Linked DNA regions of Homo sapiens: regions 2, 3, 4, 5 and 6 are each linked to region 1. The links are contacts of gene promoters, found by promoter capture Hi-C in blood cells and fetal thymus (Javierre and others, 2016). All regions are on one chromosome and are shown on one strand. The core of a region is centred on a gene start or on the middle of the fragment in contact, and the rest is flanking DNA. Distances in the headings are between cores, read along the strand shown. Region 1 holds the start of HOXB9 (homeobox B9). Region 2 overlaps SKAP1 (src kinase associated phosphoprotein 1). Region 3 overlaps SKAP1 (src kinase associated phosphoprotein 1). Region 4 overlaps SKAP1 (src kinase associated phosphoprotein 1). Region 5 overlaps SKAP1 (src kinase associated phosphoprotein 1). Region 6 overlaps SKAP1 (src kinase associated phosphoprotein 1).

Region 1 (4,251 bases), core at 602-3,101:
TTGATCTTTAAAAAATCATTTTGAAATCGCCATAATGTGAAGAAATATGGCGCTTCACCCTCGTATTTCACGTGTAATGACACGAGATGGCTTCATTTGGAAAGACAAGCGGGTGGGAGTGTGTGCCTGTGTGGGAGGTGATCCGCAGCCTTCTACAAGGCAGAGGGGTAGGTGGCCAAAAAGATACGGACTCAAGTTAGAGTGGCCCCTCTTTTGCTAAAAGGACCGGACTGAGGGCAGCCTGCCTTATTAGGACTCAGAGTCAGAGAGTTGCCGAGAAATCCACCCCAATCTACCCCTGAGCCTAACCAGAGGAGAACTGGGTCTGTCCAGGGGTCACACCTCCCCAAGTGCCAGGAGAGGCGACTGCAACCAGGGCAGAAGCTGAGGAGCAGGGGCTGGGAGAGGAGCGAGGAAGCCAGTCGGTGGGCCCCGGGGGAGTCCCTGTGCAGGGCCACAGAATAGATATATATAAAAAGGGCTATTTGGAAGCTCCAATGAAGGGGTCTGCAGGGGGTAAGGCAGTGAGGGGAAGAGACTGACCATGGGCTCGCTGTCCACACTGGCCCCTATATCGGTGTTTGGAAATCTCCAGAGCAGGAGCCTCAGGTGAGAGGAGTAGTACAGGAGGGCTGAAAACTCAGCCCAGGCTCCTTCCTCTTTGGATGGAAGGGGAGATAACTTGGGACCCCTTCCCTTGCTGACTGGGGATCCTTTCCCAGGCCTCTGCTCTGGTCACACCTCAGGAAAGTGGCCTTAACCCTTTCTCCTATTTAGCTCCCTCATCAGGGCAAATTTAGGGGCCTGGGTGGTTATTCAGTGGAGAAAAGGAGAAATGGCTTCCCTCACCCCCACCCCCCACGTCACCACCACCATCTTAAATCCATCCTTCTGGCCAGAGTCAGAGAAAGGCCCAATAAATGTAAAGGCGCTCTGGTTCCTTGTATTAAACTCTTTCCTAGGCTCACGTTTCCGGGACCTGATGGATCCCTTTAACCTCAAGTAGTTTCTAATTTCAGGACAGATAGTGGATTCTTGGACACTCAGTCGTTTTATTCACCTCTCTCCTCCTCCCTCAGCTACTGAGGGGCCCAGGGAAGCTCGCAGTCATGTAAATCTCTACAAAGAGTGCAAGGAGAGCCCCCTCCAAAGCGGACAACGTCCTAAAATCCCCAACTTTTCCCCTCATCATTTTACTTCATCTCCTGTGGATTGCTGCTGCTGTTGTTGTTTAATAAACATCTTTTGTCAAGGGGAAAGAGAAGAGGAAATGAGGGCCTGCGGGGTGGAGGTGTGTGTGGGGGGACAGGAGCACCTCCTCTTCCAGTATCCTCTCGGGCCTCTATGGCTTCTCCCCGGGCTGGGGCTCTCTCCCTCCCTCCGCCCTTGCTCTCCCTCCCTCCCCGACCCGCCTGGGGAGAGGGCTCTACAGCCTGCGTCCCTCCCAAGGCAGCCCGCCGCTTCCCTCCGCCTCTCCTCCGCCCCCGCCGCCCCATGTTGAGAACTGCCCCCCTTCCTGCAGCGGGAGGGGGGGACCGGGCGGCCGGTAGCTGGGGCTGAGGTTACGTGGCCGCCGGAGCCCTGACGTGATAGCACATTGCATCAGCATAAAACAATCCATCCTCGATATGGAGTGCGGTGCGGACGGATGACAGCGAGAGCGCAGCCCCCTCGCCCGATTGATTTATGTCGGAGCTGACGCTTTATCAGGCAGTCGGAAAAACTTTGACCAATCATTTTGCAAGGAGAGCTGAGACGGGCTGCTCCACTGTACTTTGTTGGCTGAGAAGTTGAGCAGGGGGTGGGGGTGGGAGGGTGGGGGGCTGGGGGGGTCGCGTCCGAAAGCCCTCACACCGGTCCGGGTGCCACCTCTCCCTGCTTGGGCGCCGCCGCGCGAGCGCTTCCCTTCCCCCTGCAAGCGCCCGGATAATGTCTGAGAATGTCCATTTCTGGGACGCTTAGCAGCTATTATGTCGACTCGATCATAAGTCACGAGAGTGAGGACGCGCCTCCAGCCAAGTTTCCTTCTGGCCAGTACGCGAGCTCGCGGCAGCCGGGCCACGCGGAGCACCTGGAGTTCCCCTCGTGCAGCTTCCAGCCCAAAGCGCCGGTGTTCGGCGCCTCCTGGGCGCCGCTGAGCCCGCACGCGTCCGGGAGCCTGCCGTCCGTCTACCACCCTTACATCCAGCCCCAGGGCGTCCCGCCGGCCGAGAGCAGGTACCTCCGCACCTGGCTGGAGCCGGCGCCGCGCGGCGAAGCGGCCCCGGGGCAGGGCCAGGCGGCGGTGAAGGCGGAGCCGCTGCTGGGCGCGCCTGGGGAGCTGCTCAAACAGGGCACGCCCGAGTACAGTTTGGAAACTTCGGCGGGCAGGGAGGCCGTGCTGTCTAATCAAAGACCCGGCTACGGGGACAATAAAATTTGCGAAGGAAGCGAGGACAAAGAGAGGCCGGATCAAAGTAAGTTATAAAAAGTGAGGAAATACCCAGGCCGAAGGCCAGGAGGGGGGCGGGGAGGGGAAAGGCAATAAACTGCGGACAATGTGAAGGGAAACTGCGGCGGTGGCCGGAGAGCGGGCCGGGAGGAGGAGGGGAGAGGAAGGAAAGACGGAGGGAAGGGGAAAGCTGCGTGCTCTAGAAGGGGAGACTGAGGCCGCCAGAGGAGCGCTGCCCCCACTTCTCCAAGTCCTGCGGGGAACAGGGGCTCGGGGATCGACTTGCAGCTCTCTCGGCCCTCTTTCCCCCTCTCTCCCGGAGGCCCCAGCTGAAAGCCCGGCCAGAGACCGGCGACGGCCGGGAGAGGAGCTGGCGGGGGCCGGGGCCAGCGGCCAGCGAGGCCGAGAGCCGGCGAGGGCAAGGGCCGGAGCGCACTGGGCTGCCCGGGGCCGTGCGGCTGGCAGAGCTCCCCGCGCCACGCGCAGACCGTAAAAGCCGGCCAAGGGGAAGGGGGAGGGAGCTCATTAGGATTTTATTTGCGATGCAACAGCTTGGCGGAGGATTGTTCCTAGCAGATCTCGCGCTGTAGCCGCGCAGAGTCCGCAACCGGCGACAGGAGGGGCGGGGGAAGCCCAGGACGCGGTGACTGAGCCCCCTCCCCGGATGCGCCGGCCCCTCCCCGGGAGCCTTCCCTCCGGTGGCCCCTCTCCTCCTCGGCGTCCTCGCAGGGGCTACCGCTTCCTTTTCTGCGGTCCCCCGCTGCTCTCTGCGGGGCTCCCGAGCCCCAGCCCGGGCTGTCCGCCTCTTGGGGAGTCGGGGAATCGCTTCCGAATATCGGGGCATCTCGAAGGGACCCCGGGGAGAGGAGGGGTGGGGGGAAGAGAGAGTTGCAGAGAGGCGGAGAACTTTACCCTTTGTGGGTAGTTTCCCGTCACCTCCCACTCCTCAAAAGCACCCCGGCCAGAACGCCAAGTCTGGCTGATTTTCAGGAGGTGCTACTAGATGAGAAGAGAGGGTTCTCCTATTATTTATTTTTAAGGTTGAGAAGGGCTCATCGGTGAGGGAACTCAGCCTCAAACAATGACTCGCAGGCTGGTGGATCAGGTCCTCGTTTCTTACTCTTTTTGGGAAGTAGGGATGTTTTAGTCTCTCCTTGCCCTGCTAGATTTCCCATTGACGGAGTGGCCCCAGGGCCCTTTAGAGCATCCTTGCCTGCTGGAGAGTAAAGAGCAGCCCCATTCCTTGCAGGGTCCTGTCACCTCCAACCTGCCAGGTGGAATCCTAAGAGCTGGCATTTAGGGAACACATTCTTCCCCAACCCTCCCCGCACACTCCCAAACAGATCCCCCACCCTAAACCCCCAAATTCTGCCTGAAAAGCCCATTATGGCAAGGCAGCCATTTGGCTAGGATCAATTATTAACAGTTTTTTCCCTCTTTCATATTTAATGCGGCTGCGGGTCCCATCCCAGGCAATCACATTAAGGAAATAGCGCTGCAAATTGGTAAGACACGGTACTTAGTGTAGGATGAACCAAATTTTTTATATAAAAAAATCCAGTGTTTTTCACTTGGGGAGAAGGAAGCTAGTAGCTGGTGGCTGTTATTTTTAATTGGCTTAGCTTTATTTGGCAACTTTTTTGAGTTCCAGAGTAGGGGGAGAGAAGGTAAGAAGAGAAGCCTGTATATATTTTTGTTTCCTCTCTTCCACTCGGTTACCCTCTTCTCCCCTCCAGCCCCCACATAGGATCAATTAAGGCTAGGTGTGCTGTGAAGGGCTTCCTTTTACCTCCACATCACCCCTGGCTCCCCACCTTGGG
Region 2 (4,251 bases), core at 793-3,292, 450 kb after region 1:
TTGAGCATATGTGGGCCCTTGATTTTTTTAGGATCTCATTTGCAGTAGATTAAACTGCAGGGAACTACCACAAAGAAATGCTAAAGCAATATGTAGAAAATGGAGGCTTTTCTGAGCCCTCTCTCACCACCACCACCACCACCACCGAAGTTATTTTACAGGCCAGCATAGGCCCAGCTCCATGATTCAAGATTCCATAAAAGGACAACTTTTGTCAGGTTTCGCTTTGTCTGAGGTCTCAAGGCTGGGATCCAGCAAGACGTCTGAGACCATTGAAGTGCTGTAACTGGGGCCTTGTAGCAGCTGCAATGGCAACGGAATCTGGCTGTGTTCTCTAGAGAGATTTCAGAAGAGCAAATGGAAAGAGAGATGACGAGCCATCTTTGGGAATTTCTGTGCACATTCCAATGCTGCCCACACTGCCCCAGGGTGTTATTATAAACCTAGAAACCAGATTGCTTTAAAATAAAGCATATAACTGAGTTTTTAAAATTTTGAGTCAAATGGAAACAAGCATTCTGTGGAATTATTTTTCCCCCTGTACAGTTGTTCAGACCCACAGGAAGGGGGAACAGTGAAGATAAGAAGTCTAAGGAAATGAAACAAAATAGAGACCAAAAATACAAAGTTTATGAAGAAAGAGCATCAGGGAAGAGTCAACACCAACATCAGGCCTCCTCTGAACTTCTGGCCTTTTCTCTGTCTTACTCCCATGCCCACTGAGCCCCAGCCACACAGTGCTGCTTGGCCAGCACCAAAACTAGAATCATGTTGTTTCTTCTACCTAGACCATCCCCCTGATCTCAGCCTGTGAAATCATACACATTCTGCTCAAATATGTCTCCTCAGTGACACCTTCCCAGATACTCAACTGGAATTAAGCTTTGTTTTAGCCCTCACCAGTGATTTGTATTCAGGTCTTTCTCCCCAGTTAGTAGATGCTTAGGTATTATTTGTGAAGTTAAATTCAGTGCATTCCAAGTGTTGCAGTTAGCACAAATTGAGTTTAATATCTTATACATCAAGCCCATATCACTGAAATAGGATGCGAATATTTTGAGCTAACAGTTGAGATAACCAAATACACAACAGAGAATTAAATGTGTTATTAGCATCTTGCTTGTATTTTGCATGTTGTCTGATGAGGTGCTATACATCCGTGGATTTATAACATATCTGTGCATGCGGGGGAGCAGTTTATTTCTACTTTTCTGCATGTCCCCTTTGCACCTTGAGTCTATCTGTATTTCTGTTGCATCTGTCACCACAGCACCTTGACATCTGGTTGCACATTTACACAGTTGGCATTTTTTGAAGCTTTTATCACTTTCTTTATTTGGGGAAGTAACTGATTTCCCCTCTTTCTGATTTAGTCATTTTTTTCTAATGTTATTCTTTCTGATATCAGTGTAGCCAATGTCAGAGGAGTGTCAGAGCAGCACTTCAGAAAATAGCCAGGTGTCATGAGAAGCTGCTGGCTCCTCTCTGTCCCTCTGAGGTGGATTCAGTGTCCTATTCCTCTCAGCCTCTCATTAGTGTCCCTGACATTGTGCCAAGAATGTTTATTGAAATCGACTCTCCAGATACTGATGCTCATTTGTGATGCCCCATGGTTCTCTTACATGTTCACACAGTTAACAGAATCTTCTTCAACTGTTTTCCCAATTGAGATGAGATATTTGGGGATCAAGTAGAGCATTTAATGTGATAAGTGGACAGTAATCTTTAGAGGTTAATTTGTTTAAAACCTATGTAAGGTTGGGGTCCCATATGCCCTGTTAGGAGCAAGGACCATTATAATCCATTACTGTTTAAAGTTGAGCTAGCACATAAATTTTAATTCACTCTTAAATGAAGATGTATTTCAGTAGACATAATGCTGAAATGCCTAATAATATTCTTATAAAGAAATTCAACAAGCTCTTTAGCCTAAAAAATATTTTTCAAAATAGTCTCTTAAAATTAAAGTGTCACATTAAAGATTAATAAAAATGAGAACTTTAGCTATTTAACCCACCCCTTCTTGTGAGCAACAAGACTTTTTTTCTGTTGCCATATAATAGTTGTCTTTGACTCTGGGGTTGCAAAGACACCTGTTCAGTTTCATGGAAAGATCTGAGATAACTTGTATGCCTATTTGTATTGTGCCCTCTGAACCTAGGGAGGTGTCTAGGGGTGTAATTTTCACAACCAGCTGTGAATGGTGTTTTCCTTCACTATGTGACAGTGCCCCCTACCCAGTCTTCCAAAGACCCCAGAGGCATAGCGCCAAGCCCATCAATGGGAAGGCTTCTTGATTTGAGCCTACTTTCAGCCACCTGGGAAGGACGGTGTTAGATAAAACAGATGTGGGGATTGGAGCTTCCCCGTTTACATCCATCATCGTAGAGCTTAGTAATGGCGGTGAATGATATAAAAGCTCTATAGCCAATGTTTTTTTTTTCTTTCTAGTTGATTCCAAAAGTGCAGTGGAAATCAAGAGTAACTGGTCTGGAACTGAACTGCATAGAACACATTTCTATTGTTCCATCTTTGTATTATGACTAGATTAAGTGCTGTTGCCCAAAAGAATAAAGGAATTAAGTTTTAGTTTTCATTTTTATCATTGCAAATACATTTACATTCTCCTATTTTACAAATGCAAAGAGCAGGCAAGCCACTTTCAATAATTTATTTTAAAATCAATGCTAATGAGGTTATGTCTCGTCAGTGGCCGAGTTTTACAATAAAGTCTGATTTATTTAGAAAAGATCTTTGGTGAAGCTTCCCATCTAATGGTGGTGGGAAGGAGGTGGAGTAGCAGCACTGTGACCCTCCAACTTCGGATCCAATTTGTAATTCACAGTGGAGATCTGACCCAATTTACATTGATTAGAATTGGGAGGAAGAGACAGCTGCGCACAGACAGCAGAGGTAGAATAAACCTCTGCAAAAGTGCCTAAGCACAGCAAATTATTGGTCTTTGTGATGGAGTTGTTTGATATCAACAAAAGAGCTGCTCTCTGTCCAAATTATTGGGTATCTCTAAAACTGAGGTTGTACCAACTTTTCCTCTAATGTTTCCAATCCTAAAATTAGTCCCATGTCAAAAAAGAAATGCATCATAGCTGAGAAAGGAAGGAAGTGGACGAGTAACGAGAAGACAATGTGCAAAGAATGTTTAATGTGGTTTATTTCAGCATGATCTGTTTCCTATATTTGATTTCACTCCTCCATTAGCTTAGGTTGTTTTATTCCTCGTGGTAGGGTTGAGGGAGCACTACAGGTGTCAAGTAGAACATTCTCTGCTGCTAGATCATACATGGCTATAAGAACTGTTGAGTCAAAGTGCTCCTTTTCCCATACTATATTGTAGGGCATATATATATATATTTTATTTCCCAGAGTATCCGTCCTTTTTTTTTTTTAGAGACAAGGTCTCGCTCTGTTGCCCAGGCCCAGGCTGGACTGCAGTAGCGCAATCATGGCTTACTGCAGCCTCAAACTCTTGGGCTCAGGCAATCCTCTTGCTTCAGTCTCCCAAGTAGCTGGAACTACAGGTGTGCATCACTGTGCCTAGCTAATTTTTATTTTTATTTTTTATAGAGACAGGGTCTTGCTCTGTTGTCTATGCTGGTGTCTAACTCTTGGGCTCAAGTGATCCTCCCATCTCAGCCTACCAGAGTGCTGGGATTACAGGCATGAGCCACCACACCTGGCCATATCAGTCTCTTTCTTACTTGAAATCAATTACTCCTTTAATGCTTTATAGTATTCTAATATATTTTTATGCTGCTCCTTCTTACCTATGAGCTTGGAGCTTACTTCCCCAGTTTGGCATACCGGAACTCATATTGCCCTATAAACATTACATTTAAAAAAAGAAAGAGAAATGTCAAAGTTTCATTTAGTGGCAAAACTATGGAGAAGCAAGACAAGCAAATGTCATTAAGACTCAGGAGAAAGGAAAGTAAATGTGGCCAGGAGGAGCTGAGTATTCAGCCCTCAAAACATTGCTTACTATACCCTATCTACTGTGCATATGTGTGTATATATGTGTGAGTGAGAGAGTGGGAAAAGAGCATGGTGGTAGTGAAAAGAATAACGAGTGTATTTTTCTTCACTTTGCCCCATGTATAAAATAGCTAAATATGATTCTGGTACACATATTTACATTATAAGGGTCCAATTCCTATTTTATCGGGTAATGTGACGAGATGAAACCGGTTAATGGGAGTAAGAAACTTAGGCCAATTATGTTATGACTTTGAC
Region 3 (4,251 bases), core at 904-3,403, 430 kb after region 1:
CAGCCTTCAGATGTTAAATTTTCTCCAATCTCATACACCCAATCCCCAGGTTTTTTACATGAGTACTTTAATGAAGGATCCTGCTAAACTTCACCCTGTCTGAAATTCACCCCTGTTAGCTATTAGTCTCTAGGCTCAAGTTGGTTAGGTCCCTCTTTTAAACAGTTGAAAAGAACTTGAATTAAAAGGAAGAGGGAGGATGGGAGAAGTCCATAACTTAACAGGGGGACGATTTGAACAAAAGATGTTTTTTAAAAAACTATTTATTTTCCTTTCAGGATGATTTAGCAAGAGACCAAGCCAGCTGCCTATAATGAAAGTTAGTGGGCACCTGGTTTGTTCTGCAGGGGCTGCAGCCTTTTTGCGTGGAAATTGTGTGGCCTCCTGTGCTATTAGCCTTGTGCTCTGGTGTTGCCAACTGATTTCTCCAATTCTCTTTTCTCAGTGGGCTAGAACGCAGCTGGTTAAATAGGCCGTGACTCACATAAGCTCTCGTGTCTTTTTTATTGACTGCTTTATGGAAATGTATCACACTCCAAAGGGTCCCCATTGTTGTTGCTGTGCATAGCTGACTAAAGAGTCATGTTTAGCATTGAGAGATGGAATCCTATTCTGTCGTTTTTTATTGCTTTTTTTGATGTGGGTGGGATACAAGGGTTTAAAGGAAACTAGATGAAGAGAAAGATATCTGAGAATTTCTTTTATCTTCATCTGCCATGAAAGTTGGGTGGCCATCACTTCTGGGTAACATACTTCTCTGTTGATCTTATCTTTGTGGCCCCATATCCTTCAGCTAAGTGAATCTTTTCTTTATACGGGCTGTTCTGAGAGGTTTAGTTAAGTGTAGTGGTAGGGAGAGATTATGACACTAATGTAATTCTGTTTTGTGCTGATATAATGTAATACACCTTTAGACTTAGCCAAGAGGGCCATTTATTCTCAATAAATCAAAATCATTTTTATTTTTTCATGACGGTGGTGATATCTTTTCTCAGGTAATGAATAAAAAGCTTCTTTTTTTAATTGTATACTTAAATATAAATTGTTTGCCTTAAAATAGCAACTTATACAATTGTTTGCAACTTCTTCCTATTTTTATAACCGTCCTTTAAAGCATATTTTACATACTTTCTATTATGCATTAAGTAGTTCTCTGCAGATCTGTTCGTTTACCAGTAGGTGTGGATCCAGGCATACAAGATTCCTGCCTCATCACCCCATGGCATGGCTAACACTGTTCATCCTCAGGATCACTAGTTCTTGATCAGTAGGACCCTGCGCTGACACTGAAAGAGGAGGTACCTTGCATGCCACTGTGGATTCCCACCTTGGTTATTTGGATTTGTCAGATAGATCATGGAGCTAATGAGATTGAGCTCAGAGCCAACTACATTGAGAACAACTCTGTTATTGAACTCACCACACAGTACCTTGTACACAGAAGACAGTTAGTAGACTAGAGACTGATCTGACCTCATTTCCTAATTTTTTTTCCGTAGACATTCTAAACTGAGCCTATAATCCCATTTTTTCCCACTGCCCATAAGGGGAACCAGGCAAGAGAATTCCTCAATACAGATTCTGTCTAATGAATAAGAAAGCAACATAGACCGGGTGCGGTGGCTCATGCCTGTAATCCCAGCACTTTGGGAGGCCGAGGCGGCTGGATCCCCTGGGGTCAGGAGTTCAAGACCAGCCTGACCAACATGGAGAAACCCCGTCTCTACTAAAAATACAAAAAACTATTCAGGCATGGTGGTGCATGCCTGTAATCCCAGCTACTTGGGAAGCTGGAGCAGGAGAATCGCTTGAACCCGGGAGGTGGAGGTTGCAGTGAGCTGAGATCACACCATTACACTCCAGCCTGGGCGACAAGAGTGAGACTCTGTCTCAAAAAAAAGAAAGAAAGAAAGCAACATAACACATCTTACTGACTATACACAAAAACACACCATATAAAAAGCTGTTTCCAGCTCTATTCCTTTTCAGAATCTTGTTAGTGAATGACCAAGAGAAAAAATTCAGCAGCTCCTTTGGTACCCAATTTTAGCAAACTGAGTTTGACTCTTGGGGAGAGAAGGTGGTGATGGTGCTATCCCTTGTCTCCTAGAATTAGTGACTTAGAGTTACATCTCTGCTGTATTATGTCTTTGTTTCCTTAGTGGTGGCATTCTTGGGTTTCAGTTGGTGGGGAGAGAAAAACCTCATGCTGATAATGTACTGAAAGTAAATGAAATTAAATAAGCGAAGCAGTGCTCATCACTACTTCCTCCCCCCTGGGTAATTCAATTCAAGCTCTCTCTCTGATGGCAACTCACAGGGGCTGTCTCTGTCACCCCGCTGGGGCCTGGAGTCTTAACATCTAAATAAAAGTTTCACTCAGGCATTTTTTATGCTCCTGCCAGCAGGATCAGTGAGCTGGTGTGGGCACATTAATGTAATATTCATACTCACAGACTCTCCCTGCACACGAGGCAATGTCTTCCCATTTTCATAATTATAGATGTTCCATAAAATGGCATTTAAATTTGCATTAAAAAAAGGAGGTTTGAATTCTAATAGAACGTTTAACATGTCTTTTATGATTCAGACTCTTGGCATCTTTGACAAGGAGCTGTGTCTCTAAGTTTAACAAGACCTTTAAAAAGAAAAGAAAAAAAAAACCTGTGGAAAGAAGAGATGGAAACTCCCAGCTTATGGGATCGTGTTTTCCTCATCTCCCTATGTCTTTCATTTAATTTTTAGGCCTCCAGGAGCAATTTTTTTTTTTAAGAGGCAGAGTCTCGCTCTGTCCCCAGGCTGTTGTGAAGTGGTTCAATCACAGCTCACTGCAGCCTTGAACTCCTGGACTCAAGAGATCCTCCTACCTCAGCCTCCAAGTAGCTGGGACTACAGGTTTGTGCCACCACACCTGGCCTCCCCAGGAGCAATTTTTTGACAGCACTTCAGAGAGCCTTCTCTTCTGTAACTGGTCCTCACCCCACTCAATGCCTCACCCTCAGTAGAATCTGCTACTGTTTCCTTGGAGGGTGTTTTCAGAGGGGTAGGAGAAATGAAAGAACCCTAGAAAAATGAACTTTCCTTTGCTGCTGTTCATCTCATGCGTGCACCCTGAGATTGATTAAAAGGATTTATGGCAACCACATAGTTTGCTAACTGTGAAACACACAAATAAAAGTAGTCCATGAACAAGGAGGTTAACAATAAGGACCAATTGGATAAAAAATCAGGCACATAGACACACTTAAAAACAGAAAAAGAGGCTCTTCTGATCTACCTTTTTATAACTAAGCTTGAAACAGCTTTAAAGCAAAATGTAATTTTGATTGCATTTTAAATTGTCGTAGATGTTATTTTAAAACAAAAAGTAGGAAAAGCACTGAGCAAAGTGCCAGCTCATAGCCACCATTGAATAAATGTTATTGTAGGAAATGTTCAAAAAACAATTGTTTGAAAAAAAGTTATTTCAACCATAACTCTCAAGATACTCTATAGGTGGCCCAGTTGATTCATATGTAGTTATGCCTTACTTTGTTTTGTATTTGGTTTGCTTCATAAATTATTTAAGACAATCCAAAAGAGATTTGAGTTCTGGGACTAAAAAGAATAAATGTTAAAATACCGCTAGCCCAATTACCTTCATTTTGCCTAATTAAGAAATGTGGAGTGTGTCCTTAAAAGAGGCTTTTTTTTTCATTCTTCTTTCATTTTATTTTTTGAGAAGTAAATTCCTTCTTTGTCTCCATCCTTTGTCCCTCCCTTCTGTGAAGTAAGTATAAACCCCAGTGGAGGAAGATGGATTAGGATCTTGACTTCTCAATAAATTTGTACCTAACAAGGCTAATTGAAAGCCAAGAATGTTAGCAGCATACAATTAAAGGCTGATGTAAGTTTCAGGGTATTATTTGTGAAGCCTTTTACAGTTCTTAGATTCTTTCGCATACTTTTTTTTGTTTGTTTTGTTTTGAGACGAAGTCTCATCCTGTCGCCCATGCTGGAGTGAAATGGCACGATCTCGGCTCACTGCAACCTCCGCCTCCCGCATTCAAGAGATTCTTGTGCCTCATCCTCCCGAGTAGCTGGGATTACAGGTGTGTGCCACCATGCCCGGCTAATTTTTTGTATCTTTAGTAGAGATGAGGTTTCACCATGTTGGCCAGGCTGGTCTCAAACTCCTGACCTCGTGATTTGCCTGCCTCAGCCCCACAAAGTGCTGGGATTACAGGCATGAGCCACTGGGCCCAGCCTCTT
Region 4 (4,251 bases), core at 1,031-3,530, 390 kb after region 1:
CACAGGTGTCCATGTCTAGCCCTGTACCAATTTCATCCTAAACAACTGCCCATATTCCCATTAATGTGACATAATCATTAGCATATATAAGTTCCTAGAGAACTGCTTTCTATCTCATGTCTTTATTGTAGTCAATGGAGTATACTCAGTCTTTTAGGAATAATTAAAATATTCTGTGACTCTAATTAAAGTAGTCTGGATATTTTTAAGAAACCTATATTTAAGAACAAGCTGAGGGCTGACATCAAGTTAATTGTGTTATTTTTAGTGGAGCTATCATTGGAGACAGCAGCATGGCACCCAGTGCCTTTTTTTAATCCTCATATCTGAATATAAAATGTTAAATAACCAGCATCTTGAGCTCTTAAGAGGAAAGGCATTAAAGCATAAATAAATAAAGCTGTTATGAAAGCTTAGAAAATTATCTAAATGCACTTGAGTAAGAAGTCATGTACTTATTAAATTGCTAGTTATAGAGATAAATGCCCTTAAACCTTTCACTGCCAAAAAAACCAAACACTCAAACAACTTGGAACTCTTGTCATATAAGCATGGGGGATGCAGAGAGAGAAGCTGTTGGCTTGTATTTCTGCCACTCTAAGTAAACATTTTTTTTTTCTCAAGACACAGTCTTGCTCTGTCACCCAGGCTGGAGTACAATGGCACAATCTCAGCCCATTGCAACCTCTGCCTCCTGGGTTCAAGCAATTCTTCTGCCTCAGCCTCCCTAGTAGTTGGGATTACAGGTGCGAGCCACTATGCCCGGCTAATTTTTTGTATGTTTTTAGTACAGATGGGGTTTCACCATGTTGGCCAGGCTGGTCTCGAACTCCTGACCTCGTGATCCACCCACCTCGACCTCCCAAAGTGCTGGGATTACAGGTGTAAGCCACCACACTTGGCCAGTAATCTTATTTTACCCATATTTTATACAATTAGTACAGTAAAATTTTATAGTATTATATTTTATCTGTTTAAATTACAGACTATTCTTGTTTTTACTAGAAGTCAGAATTTGTCCCCTTCTTTCTAGTTCCATCACCAAACCTTTGCCAAACAGGGACAACACAGTTCAACAAAACCACACATTCTAGCACTGCCATCCTTTCTCTTTTCTATTGATGTAAAGAATCATCAATATTTCCTTTTAACACCCTCCTTCACCTTAATCTCAACTGAACATTGAAACCCATTGCAAAGTAGCCCCATTTAATTTTCCATAGCTGAAATTGAGTTTTTTCAAATGTGAGATCCAGAACTGGTGACCTCCCCAGATTGTGGTACCCATTAGCCACAACTGCCACAGAGTTCCTATTGGAGATGGAGCATTTCTTTTGTAAAATTTACTCAGGAGACACTTGCCAAACCAAGCTCCTCTAGTATCTTGCTGTTTTCCATGATCAGGATTGGCAGAAATGCATCTCTCGAAAACAGTCCAGGCACAGTGACTTATATAAGAACACAATCATGGTTATGAATATCCACTAGACATTCTGATTCTGGATAATCTGTGAACCTAAGAAAAGGAAGATCAAGCAGTGAATTTATTTGGAAATAATAGAACTGTTGGTTGGGTTTTGTAGGCTGAAGTTCTGTAGTTAATCATTATTCTGCGAAATCCTGAATGATGTTGTTTGTAGCTTTCCTATGCAGGCAGTGTCCCCATGGGAGTCCTACTAACGGTCTTTTGTCAGGCACTATCAGCAGTATTGAGCCAGCCTGAGCACCCTATTATTAATCCTTTTCTCCTAGTGACATGACAGCAATCGATGTCTGAACAAGCTATTGAAACTGTAGCAATCAAGTGGACTCTGGTTAATCCAATGGGATACTTACTCAGAGCCTACGAGAAGGGCAGGGAATTTTTTCTAACTCCATACTGTTCCCATATCCATATACTTTATGCTGCCAATATTTGGGTAAAGGCTGACATTTACCCAGGCCTGTAAAATACACAATGGAACCTTTACCGTTGACTCAAATACATTTGTATCACCTTTACAGCCATCTGTTACTTCTGTAAATAAACTTGTGATCATTATATAAATATTTGTGCCCATGTAAATGTAAAGCAAGAGCATTGAAATCTTTACATAAAAAGGTACCCACCTGGTGGTATCTTTGCACTCATAGAAATCAATCAGCAGTTACAAAGAATAGTATATAGAACACGAGACTATCAGATTTCCTGTCCCTTATTCCAGATGGAAAGAAGTCTAAAATGGTGGTGCCCAACCTGGCATACAGATTCCTGAGTCCCATTTGCACAGATTATGATTCAGTTAATCTGAGGCACGCCCAGGAACTTGCATTTTTAGGTTCGAAGGTGACTGGCCTACAATAGCAGTTTTCAGGCTATATTCCTAAGTGCTTTAGTGTTTCCTAAGAGGCACCTATGTGGTTTGTAGGGTGAAGAAAAGGGGGTTAAGAAGGAAGAATACCAGGAAGGAGAGATCTGTTCTTAGCTTTGCTAGCAAGTGCCTCACTTTTGGCAACTCACCTCAGCTTTTGACTTCAGTTTCTCAGATTATAAAATATGTATCAGTAACGTGTGCCTTTGTTTTTTTTACATAGGTATTTTGAGAAGAATGAATAGGAGAGTATAGAGAAAATAGGAATTATAGAAGATAAAGCCAACTTATCCATCAGTGTAAGAATCTATTAACACTAGGTTATATAGTCCCTGCTTAACCCTGCAGTGAGGTGAGGCTTCCTACCTCATGACCACCATTATTCCCAAAGGCTGGGGAGGTGGAGGCTCTCTAAGGTCTAAAGGGTCTTTCTCAGGCTGAACTTAACCCCCACTGTCATTAGCTTCAGCTTGTGGGTCCTAGTACTCCCACTACTCCCTATTTCTATGGGACAACCCTTCAAATATTTCAGGACAGTTAGAAGGTCTCAGCGTAAAATTCCTTGCTTTCTTTTTTTTTTATTAACTCATTTTCTGAAACCCTCTCAACTACATAGAGTATTTAGTACCCTTCTACTTGTGTAGTACCCTTCCTCAAACTATGCCAGTTGTTAAGTTAATTTGCTTTTGCTTTCTGCAAAAGCAGCCTTCTTTCTTCAGGCTGTGTAAGCATGTATGCTTTTACAACAGCTATTGCAATAATCCCTACACATTATTAGCTGTTTTTTGAAATAATGGTATAATTACTGGTCTGAGAGACCCTTAGTGTGAAGATCTCTCTCAAACATGGAAGCATAATAGAATAATTTAAGGGAGTCTGTTAAAAATGTAAATTTCCAATAACCTGACCCAGAAATTCATTCTGATATCTGGTGAAACAGGGGCAAGGCTCTAGAGGTATCTTTAAGGTGCCCAGGTGATGCAAATGCAGCTGATTTGTAAACCACTGTGTACACTAACTTGAAAATACTATGGTTTAAACAGACTGGGACAGAGAGATGTAAACACTGCCTGCATCTATCCTTTAACCTATCCCTGAATTAAATGCCCACAGCCTTCTTTCTTCATCATCTGTATCACATCTACCTCCTAAACTGTGCAGATTACATGAGATAATATATGTAATACATTTCATTATCATAAAGGACTATACAATATCTTTTTTATGCAACTGTGCTTTTATGCAAAAATCAGGTTAATATGTCATTATGCCTCTATTCTATTCCATTTCATTACATGTCTGTCTAATAAAGATTTAGGATCTTACTTATAATTATATATGCTTACTCACTCATAAAACAATTTTTTTTGAGACAGGGTCTCACTCTGTCACCCAAGCTGCAGTGCAGTGGCATGATCGTGGCTCACCGTAGCCTCTATCTCCCCAGGCTCAGGGGATCCTCCCACCTCAGCCTCCCAAGTAGATGAGACTACAGGCACACACCACCACACCTGGCTAATTTTTTGTATTTTTTGTAAAGACAGGGTTTTGCCATGTTGCCCAGGCTGGTCTCACACTCCTGGCCTCAAGCGATCTGCCCACCTCAGCCTCCTAAAGTGCTAGGATTACAAGTGTGAGCCACTGCAACCGGCACATAAAACAAGATGATTATCTTCTTTGTGTATATGTTAGTGTAAATCACTTTTTGCCAGGCATGATCTTCCCTCTCCCCCATCAAGCAGTTCTGGAAGAATCTGCAGAAAGACACCTTTGAGTTTAACACAAAACAAAGCTTTGTTGATGCTTTAACCTAGTATGGACAAGAAAAGACATCCTGGAAGGCTGTCATGTGGACAGCAAGTTCTAAGAAACAGGTTACACAAGAACATTGCCTGGTTTA
Region 5 (4,251 bases), core at 525-3,024, 380 kb after region 1:
ATGCTTCAGGCAGAAAGCAACAGCTCCAACCAGCAAGCTTTAGAAAATGCTCCTAAACTCCTCTCTTACCCTTCTGAGCTGTAACAGATCTGTGTCATTTTCAAGAGATGGCTCCCTATCAGTGCTGTTAGGTCTACATCTTTCTCACTCACTTATAAGGCCTCTGTGCCCTCCCAGATAGGCAATATGCATTAAAAGCTATCAGTGAGTCATAATTTTTAGTAAAATTCCAATTGTGATTTTAAATTTTACTCAAATTCTACTTTTAAAATATAACCTTAGGAAAGAATTGTGAAGTGGTTTTTGCGGGGGGCTTCCGGGTTTTGTTTTTTTTTTAAGACAAGGTCTTGCTCTGCCTGGAGTGCCGAGGCATGATCATGGTTCACAGCAGCCTCGACTTCCGGGGTTCAGATGATTCTCCTGTCGCAGCCTCCCGAGTAGCTAGGACTACAGGCACACGCCACCAGGCCCAGCTAATTTTTTGTATTTTTGGTAGAGACAGGGTTTCATCATGTTGCCCAGGCTGGTCTCAAACTCCTAGGCTCAAGCCATCTGCCCACCTCAGCTCCCAAAGTGCTGAAATTACAGGTGTGAGGCACTGTGCCCAGCCAAGAATTGTAAAGTTTTAATATTCTTCTTTTGTCCATGTATTTTCTATAAGGTACTATTTTCAATACTATTATAATGTTAGTTTAGCCGTAGCTAAGGTTAAGCTGGTATTTCTATTCTAAATCACCTTTTTAGGTTTTTGAAACTTGACCTTTTAAATTCTAATGGGACTAAAGCTGAGTAAGCTAGACCAACTGAGTGTGATTAAACATACATAAAGCCATTAAAAACTTGCTTTGGAGGCCACCTGAATAGTCTAATAGAACTATTTTGCATTGACAAGTTATTGTCTATTAGAGGATCTCAAAGTGTTTATATTATTTAATTAAATGGGTTTTTTTTGTTTTTTTGTTTTGTTTTTAGTAGAGACGGGGTTTCACCGTGTTAGCCAGGATGGTCTCGATCTCCTGACCTCGTGATCCGCCCGCCTCGGCCTCCCAAAGTGCTGGGATTACTGGCTTGAGCCACCGCGCCGGCCTAATTAAATGTTCTTATCTAAACTTGGGGTATGTTAAGACATAACATGATTTTTTTTTAAAGGCCCTCTATTAAACCCTGTTCATTGATAGAAATTAAACTTATCTTGAACTCAGATACTACCACCACTCCCAGGGAGCCCTTCCTGATCACACAATCTAAGGCAGTTTCTCCCTTTGTTGATTGATATCACATGTTGACTGCATAATTTTTTTTTGCATTTGTCATTTGCTGTCTTATATTACTATGGTATTGCTGTAATCACATAGGCTCCTTGGCGGCAAGGATTATGTCTTAAATTTCTTATCCCCTACAATTTGTTTGTTTGTTTGTTTCTGTTTTCTTTTTTGAGACGGAGTCTTGCCCTGTCTTCCAGGCTGGAGTGCAGCGGCGCAATCTCTGCCCACTGCAACATCCACCTCCTGGGTTCGCGCGATTCTTCTGCCTCAGCCTCATGAGTAGCTGGGATTACAGGCACATGCCACTATGCCCGGCTATTTTTTGTATTTTTAGTAGAAATTGAGTTTCACCATGTTGGCCAGGCTGGTCTCGAACTGCTGATCACAGATGATCCAACCGCCTCGGCTTCCCAAAGTCCTAGGATTACAAGCATGAGCCACCTGTGCCCATCCTCCCCTATAGTTTTTCATACAGTACCGTATACAAAGAAAATAATAATTACTTGGTGAAGAATTGGCAAAAGTAAAAACTAAGAAGACTACCTGTTCCTGCGCAGGCCATCCTTGGAAGAATAAATGGGTAAAAATATAGCTAATCAGTTCTACACTATGAGGTCTGTTCATTGGCCTCTTTTATCATGACCTATTTGCCTTAATAGAAATAGTGTTGTTGATCATTCATTCATCGATTCAGAAATTTCTTGTTGAGTGCCTACAATGAAAGAATAAGATAGATGAGTTTTACATTTAAGGAGAGTAAACTTGAGGAGTTTTACATTCTACTGGGGAGACCGACAATAAAGAATTAAACCAATAAATAAAATAATTACATATTGTGATTAGTGTGATAAAGAAAATAAGCAGGTCATTGTAATAGAGATATGCCTTTCTTCTGCTTTCCTCTTTCCAGGAAATTCATGAAGAGAGATTCCAGGAAAGAAGTAGAACAGTGTTGCAAAATTAAAGTGTAGCTGTTATGCATCGAGTATGCATCTATAGTATGCGGTTTGCACTTGACACCTCCCTGCTGAGTTTACTGGGGGAAAAAGGATGAAAAAATATATATATAAACACTTTGAAAAATTAAAGGTGGTGTATGTATTGTTACTATGACTTACTATCTCCAACTGGAAAAATACACGTGAAATGATATTTAGTCAAACTTTGGTCAGCAACTAAAACTTTTGTGAGGTAGGAAAAGACGGTTACCTTTAAATCATTGAGTAAAGAAAATGAATGATAGAGGAAAAGAAATCAGAAGTATTGGATAGAAGGAAACAAATTGTATTGGGCTTAGCTTGCAAATTGCAGCCCCATAAAAGAGACAGCATAAGATATGCTGCATAGTATTGGCAGCTTCCTCTGTAACTACTACTTCTTTAGCCTCCCTGAATCCCTTTTTCTAGCTATTTGCCTTCGTTATCATGTCCATGCTTTCATGGTGCTTAGTTAATAGATGTCTAGTTGTGCTGTATACAGGTCTTCCCAATGGAATGTGACTAATAGGAAGGCAGGGTTTGGTCTCCTACTTCTTTGGTAAATTGTGTGCATACTTGGAAGTGAAATGCACACAGTGAGTACACAGAGACTTTTGTAAAGTAAGTGAATTTGTGTATATGTATTAGGTATAGTGACACTTTTCTGCAGATGTGGAGGTATTTATTTATTGTGCACTAGAATTGATGGTTCAATTCAGATAGTTGGGTTAGAGAGAACTTTTGAGACTGCGAGAGGTATGAGTCAGGGGGATGGGAAAGGTTGTTTAATTTCCTTCTTTCTAACATTCATTCATACATTAATTCAACAAATATTTACTAAATGCCTTCTGGTTAAGACTGTTCTAAGCATTCCAGGGATAGACAGAGGTGTCAAAGGCACATGAGAGATGACGTGGGAGATAAGTTATGCACCCAAGTAACTGAAATTCAAGAGGCTGTGTGATAAGTACTGTAAGTACATAGCAGCTCCAAGGAGATCAGTCAGTTTAGATTAGAGTGATGAAAAAGACCAGCAGGATTGGGTGATTAACTCTCAGAGATCTCTGCACTGTTAGGAGACCTGAAATGTGGTCCAAGCTGTAGCTTGATGTCTTTGGGCAGATCACTTAATCTCTGCATGCCTTAGTAAAAGGAGAAATTAGATCATTTAGTCTCTAAAGCTCTTCCAGCTCTAGAACTCCATGAAGAACCGTATTTGAATCAGGCTTTGAAGGATGACTATAAAAATAAAAAATAAAATAAAGCTTTATGGTTTGAATGAGAGAACCTCTGCTATGCTATGATTTTAACAGGTAGAGATAGGGGAAGATAGAAGTGAGAATAGTGAACTCCAGGGCAACGGGGCTATACCCACAAAGGTGTAGGTGTGGGGAAATGTAGAATGTGTTCAGGAAACACCAAATAGTCCGGTCTAACAAGGGTTACTTAATTGTAGGAGGATGATGAGAGGAGACAGTAAAGGTAAACCAGCCTAATTTTTGGAAACCTTTGAATGCTAGTCTGAAGTATAATATTCAGCTTAATTAAAGATTTTTAAGAATATAACCAATATCCTTTGCTTTAGATACAGTACGGATAATGAAATTACCTAAGTCTTCCATTTTATATGTGTGTTAAAATGTACAGAGCCCCTACAATGTGCCAGGCTCTGTTCTAAGTGATTTATGTATTTTAATTTATAGCAACCCGTTGAGAAAGGCATTATTATTGTAAATTTTTGTGGGTTTTTTTGTTGTTTTTTGTTATTGTTGTTGTTGTTGTTTTGAGACGGAGTCTAGCTCTGTCACCCAGGCTGGAGTACAGTGGCACAATCTTGGGTCACTGCAACCTCTGCCTTCTGGGTTCAAGCGATTATCCTGCCTCAGCCTCTTGAGTAGCTGGGATTACAGGCATGCACCACTACACTGGCTAATTTTTATATTTTTAGTAGAGACAGGGTTTCACCCTGTTGGCCAGGCTGGTCTCGAACTCCTGACCTCCAGTGATCC
Region 6 (4,251 bases), core at 511-3,010, 340 kb after region 1:
TTCTCACAGTAATTCTGTAAAGTAGATATTACCATGCCCATTTCATCAATGTGGACACTTGAGAATCAGAGAGGTTAAGTAACTTTCCTAAAGCCATACTGCTCAGCTGTGGCAAATCAGGAATGTTCATATACATCTGACTCCAAAAGTAAATGTCTGAGAAAACAAGGAACAGATTAAGGAGCAATATTCAGAATTCCTGTCTCCTTTTCTCACCACAGAATTGCACATAATGGCTGTTATGATTTCTGGTGGAGAAAAAAATGAATGATAAAAATGCAGCATTTGTTTAGGGTCAGAGGATCAAAAGGGCTCATAGGAAATATTGACATAGGGGCTCCCCTTTTTTTTTTTTTTTTCAGATGGAGTCTTGCTCTGTCACCCAAGCTGGAGTGCAGTGGCACGATCTTGGCTCACTGCAAACTCCGCCTCCCAGACTCAAGCGATTTTCCTGCCTCAGCCTCCTGAGTAGTTGAGATTACACGCACACGCCATCATGCCCGGCTAATTTTTGTATTTTTAGTAGAGACAGGTTTTCACCATGTTGGTCAGGCTGGTCTCCAACTCCTGACCTCGTGATCCACCCGCCTTGGCCTCCCAAAGTGCTGGGACTACAGGCATGAGCCACAGTGCCCGGCCAGGGCTCCCTTTTTCTCTCTAGACTCAGTATGACCAGAAAGAGGAGGTGGTATCGTATAAAGGAGAGGAGGTATAAGTAAGCTTTCTGCTCCTTTACTAGAATCACCACTCCCATCTTATTCCCTTATTCAAATATGTTGCTAAATGCCTCATTTCTCATACTTAATAACATCTTGGCCATAAAGCAAATACCATAAAAGAACATTTAGAGATGGCTGTGAGGATTTGGAGAGCTTAGAGAGTAAATGCACCAAAATCATAAAACATGGCCCTCTCTGTGCGTCAGAAGAGGACTCAGGCCTACTATAAGAGAAATCTCCATATATTAATAATTGCTCTATAGGCAAATCCATACCTCAATGTCTTTCAATATGGCTTTCATAAATCTCAGCAACTAAGAATTTCAGTGTGCTGAAAACTACCAATCTGGTAACCTGATCAGAGTTTAATGACTACTATAGGAGAATTGTGTTGAATTGTGAAGAAAATCCAAATGCTTTCAGTCTTACCATGTATGTCTCCACCAATTCTTTAGCAGCCCCTGAAAGGCAGGTCCTCCCAGACTTGGCTAAAGTCTGGTTTCCTTTAAGATTTCCAACCTTCTACAACTGCTAAAATATATGCTAGTTGACATAGATATGTTCTCTAGTTAAGGTGAGAGCAAAATTGTCAAAGATGTATAGATCCCTGCGTTACTTATAAAAAAGGGATATATTGAATATAAGTGTATTTTTTCTCACAACATGCCAACTGTGCTTTTTGGAAGCTGTTTTTGAACATGATGACAGAGTATGTCTGAACATAGAAGTCACCTGTGTACTCATATCCAAATCTCCTTCATAGATCATCACCTTTGAAATTGGCAGAACCCACCATAGGCCCATGTGCCTCTGAGTACATTGAAAAGAATGACATTTTGTAAATTACCTATGCTAAAATGGCAAACAGTTTTTCCTCCATGTTCTAATAACTACTCATGAGTGGTCTGTTTCAGTGTTTCAAACCCACCATAAAGTTTTTATTTGATATAGAATGTCTTAAGAGAAATTGGCCTCCAGAAATTATTTCTTATCTTTATTGGTTCTATTCGTGACCTACTTTTTAAAAACATTATTATAAAGGGTAGCCCCATTAAAATCAGAACAACTACAAATGTTTGCCATAAATGGAGTTGAATTGGCCAGTCAACAAGTTGGCAGCTCTTACTAGGAGAAGGGACTGTGTGGGATTTAGCAGGAAGGAGGGGGAAGCAAGTGGAGAGATAAAGGAAATCTTAGCAATATGAAAGGGAGGGAGCAGCTCCTTTACCTGTGAGCTGAGTTTAGGCTGGGCAAACAATTTCAAAGTTACATCCCAGGCATTCTAAGAGGAGTAGACAGAGAATGGCATTGAAATAAACTGAGTAATCATGGTGTTCCAAGAATGACAGGTGAGAGTCTGGGACATTAATCAGGGAGGGAAGTACAGTCTGATCTCAGAAGAGGAGGCTGGCTAGAGTCCCACTTCTGCCCTGGGGAACTAGCTAGGTACAAGATGCCCAGACAGAAGGGCCAGTTAGGCAGACTGAGAGCACATTGTCCTCCTTATTCCTAAGTTATTTCCCACCCAGAGGGAAACAGAATGGAGCAGCAGCTTGTATCCAGCCGTCGCTCACTTCAGAAGAGGAATCTATCCACCACCACTAAGATCTTCAAGAGTTAGTGAGATCCTGCCCCCTGCCTGCTGCTAGATTATAGTTAGAGTGAAATATAGCCAGTCAGCCAAGTCAACAGACATATGATCTCTGCTGTATGGTTGATTGGACCAAGGCTGATGCATCCATAGATGGCAGAGGTTATTATAAGCACCTAGAGTCAGAGTCTGAAAGGGTTAAATAACTTGCCCCAGGTCACAGACCAAGAGGAAGTTGAACTGTGATTTGAACCCATGCAGTCTGATTCCAGAGTTTATCCTGGCTTTAAGCACTATGCTATGCTGCCTTAATGATATATGCATCTAAATTTTATTATTATTTTATTTTTCTTATTACATCTGAATTTTAGATACAACTTTAAACATGTCTTCCCTTAGGAAACTTTCTCCAGCTCTGTATCATAGTCTACTCTAATCACTTTTCTCTGCATTCTCTCATCAGTTATGCTGGGTGGCAGGGGGAAGCTTGTTTGTCTTGACTCACAGCAGGAGTCTCTTGATATTACCTATATTTTACAAATGCCCAACACGTCTAAGCCACAACTTCATTGGTGTTTCTGTATTCAGGTAATTATTAAATTATATTCTGTCTCTGAAATAAGAGTTTGACTCTCCCAAACATCTTCTTAACTAGAAAATGCACTAGTTTGTGACTATTTTAGAGATCTCAAAGTACTTGCTTTTTTTAGCCAAACTGAGAAAATAATTACATGGAATTACATAATTGCTAAGAGTGGATGGCATTTTGTAGTTATTGTTCCCTCAGATGGGTGGGTTTGCATTTATCAGAGGAGCACAAAAATGTGCAATTTTCCTTACCAAAAAAAAAGGGCAGTTTCTTTTTTTCTTTTCTTTCTTTTTTTTTTGAGACCAGATCTTGCTCTGTCACTGAGGCAGCAGCAGTGCAGCGAGACGACCTTGGCTCACTGCAACCTTGACCTCCTAGGCTCAAGCAATCCTCTCACCTCAGCCTACTAAGTAGCTGAGACTACAGGCGTACACCACAATGCTTGGCTGACTTTTTACTTTTTCGTAGAGCTGAGGTCCCACTATGTTGCCCAGGCTGGTCTTGAACTCTTGGGCTCAAGCAATCCTCCTGCCTTGGCCTCCCAAAGTGCTGAGATTACAGGCATGAGTCACCTTGCCCAGCCAAAAGCAGTTTCTTAGTTTTGATAGTTATACTGTGGTTATGCAATATGTTAGCTTTGAGGGAACAGGGTGAAGGATAGATGAGAACTCTGTACTATTTTTGCAACTTTTCTGAAAACTTAAAATTATTTCAAAGTACAAAGTTAAAAAAAATAAGGCATTAGTTTGGGTAGAGGTGAGGAATGAATGGAGGAAAATAGAGGAAACAGAATTGGCCATGAGTTGATAATTGTTGAAGCTGGATGATAGCTACAGGAGGTTCATTACATTATTTTCTATACATTTGTACATGTTTAAACTTTTTATAATTTCTTAATCTAATAAAATGAAACAGAAAGGCATAAAAGAAAGTATTAAGTGCAGTTCAACTTTGGGTAAACATAAGAATTTTCCAAATGATATTGTTAGCTGAGACAAACTTATATTATTTTGGGATTTCTGTTTTCTTTACCATTCTTATCGGTGCATGAAGAATCAAGTAAATGCTTGTGTGATTTTTTTAACTGTAGAATATGTACTCTTAGTTACACTTAGCTGTTGTTCTTCAGGTTTTCCTTATTGCTGCAGTACTAAAAATATATGCATTAGATAAACTAGGATTTTTAAAAAGTTGTCTTGCCTGTCCATAAACTAGTAAATATTAATATTTATTTTTTGTCTGTTTTTGTTTTATTGTTTTTCTAAACAATATGAGTATGAGGGCATGCCTAATGGCATATATTTTCTCATTGATTTTATAATAAACTTATACTGTTCCAAAGATAATAAATT

The links. Contacts are between HindIII fragments. The CHiCAGO score rates a contact against its expected background, and 5 or more counts as called.
Region 2: a fragment that was not itself captured here is called in contact with the fragment with the promoter of HOXB9 in region 1 in 9 of 17 cell types (endothelial precursors, megakaryocytes, M2 macrophages and 6 more); the score reaches 12.0 in endothelial precursors.
Region 3: a fragment that was not itself captured here is called in contact with the fragment with the promoter of HOXB9 in region 1 in 13 of 17 cell types (endothelial precursors, M1 macrophages, M2 macrophages and 10 more); the score reaches 17.2 in endothelial precursors.
Region 4: a fragment that was not itself captured here is called in contact with the fragment with the promoter of HOXB9 in region 1 in 2 of 17 cell types (megakaryocytes and M2 macrophages); the score reaches 5.8 in megakaryocytes.
Region 5: a contact is called between a fragment that was not itself captured here and the fragment with the promoter of HOXB9 in region 1, in 3 of 17 cell types (megakaryocytes, erythroblasts and endothelial precursors). The highest score is 7.1, in megakaryocytes.
Region 6: a contact is called between a fragment that was not itself captured here and the fragment with the promoter of HOXB9 in region 1, in 9 of 17 cell types (M2 macrophages, erythroblasts, megakaryocytes and 6 more). The highest score is 9.0, in M2 macrophages.

Annotation. Positions count from the first base shown.
Region 1 is chr17:48,623,958-48,628,208 of GRCh38, reverse strand. HOXB9 (homeobox B9) reads left to right here and starts at 1,851. Exons shown (of 2, transcript NM_024017.5): 1 at 1,851-2,456. The coding sequence starts at 1,940. RefSeq lists a silencer at 755-910 and an enhancer at 2,321-2,998. The HindIII fragment of the contact is 5,521 bases long and covers 1-4,251 here.
Region 2 is chr17:48,172,343-48,176,593 of GRCh38, reverse strand. The region is part of intron 9 of SKAP1 (src kinase associated phosphoprotein 1); the gene reads left to right. Among named protein-coding and RNA genes, the nearest start is that of MIR1203, 18 kb to the right of the region's middle. The HindIII fragment of the contact is 1,446 bases long and covers 1,320-2,765 here.
Region 3 is chr17:48,190,700-48,194,950 of GRCh38, reverse strand. All of the region lies in intron 4 of SKAP1 (src kinase associated phosphoprotein 1), which reads left to right. Among named protein-coding and RNA genes, the nearest start is that of MIR1203, 36 kb to the right of the region's middle. RefSeq lists an enhancer at 2,165-2,782. The HindIII fragment of the contact is 2,282 bases long and covers 1,013-3,294 here.
Region 4 is chr17:48,230,226-48,234,476 of GRCh38, reverse strand. All of the region lies in intron 4 of SKAP1 (src kinase associated phosphoprotein 1), which reads left to right. Among named protein-coding and RNA genes, the nearest start is that of SKAP1-AS2, 62 kb to the left of the region's middle. The HindIII fragment of the contact is 3,731 bases long and covers 415-4,145 here.
Region 5 is chr17:48,245,751-48,250,001 of GRCh38, reverse strand. All of the region lies in intron 4 of SKAP1 (src kinase associated phosphoprotein 1), which reads left to right. Among named protein-coding and RNA genes, the nearest start is that of SKAP1-AS2, 46 kb to the left of the region's middle. The HindIII fragment of the contact is 3,470 bases long and covers 40-3,509 here.
Region 6 is chr17:48,281,723-48,285,973 of GRCh38, reverse strand. All of the region lies in intron 4 of SKAP1 (src kinase associated phosphoprotein 1), which reads left to right. Among named protein-coding and RNA genes, the nearest start is that of SKAP1-AS2, 10 kb to the left of the region's middle. The HindIII fragment of the contact is 2,076 bases long and covers 723-2,798 here.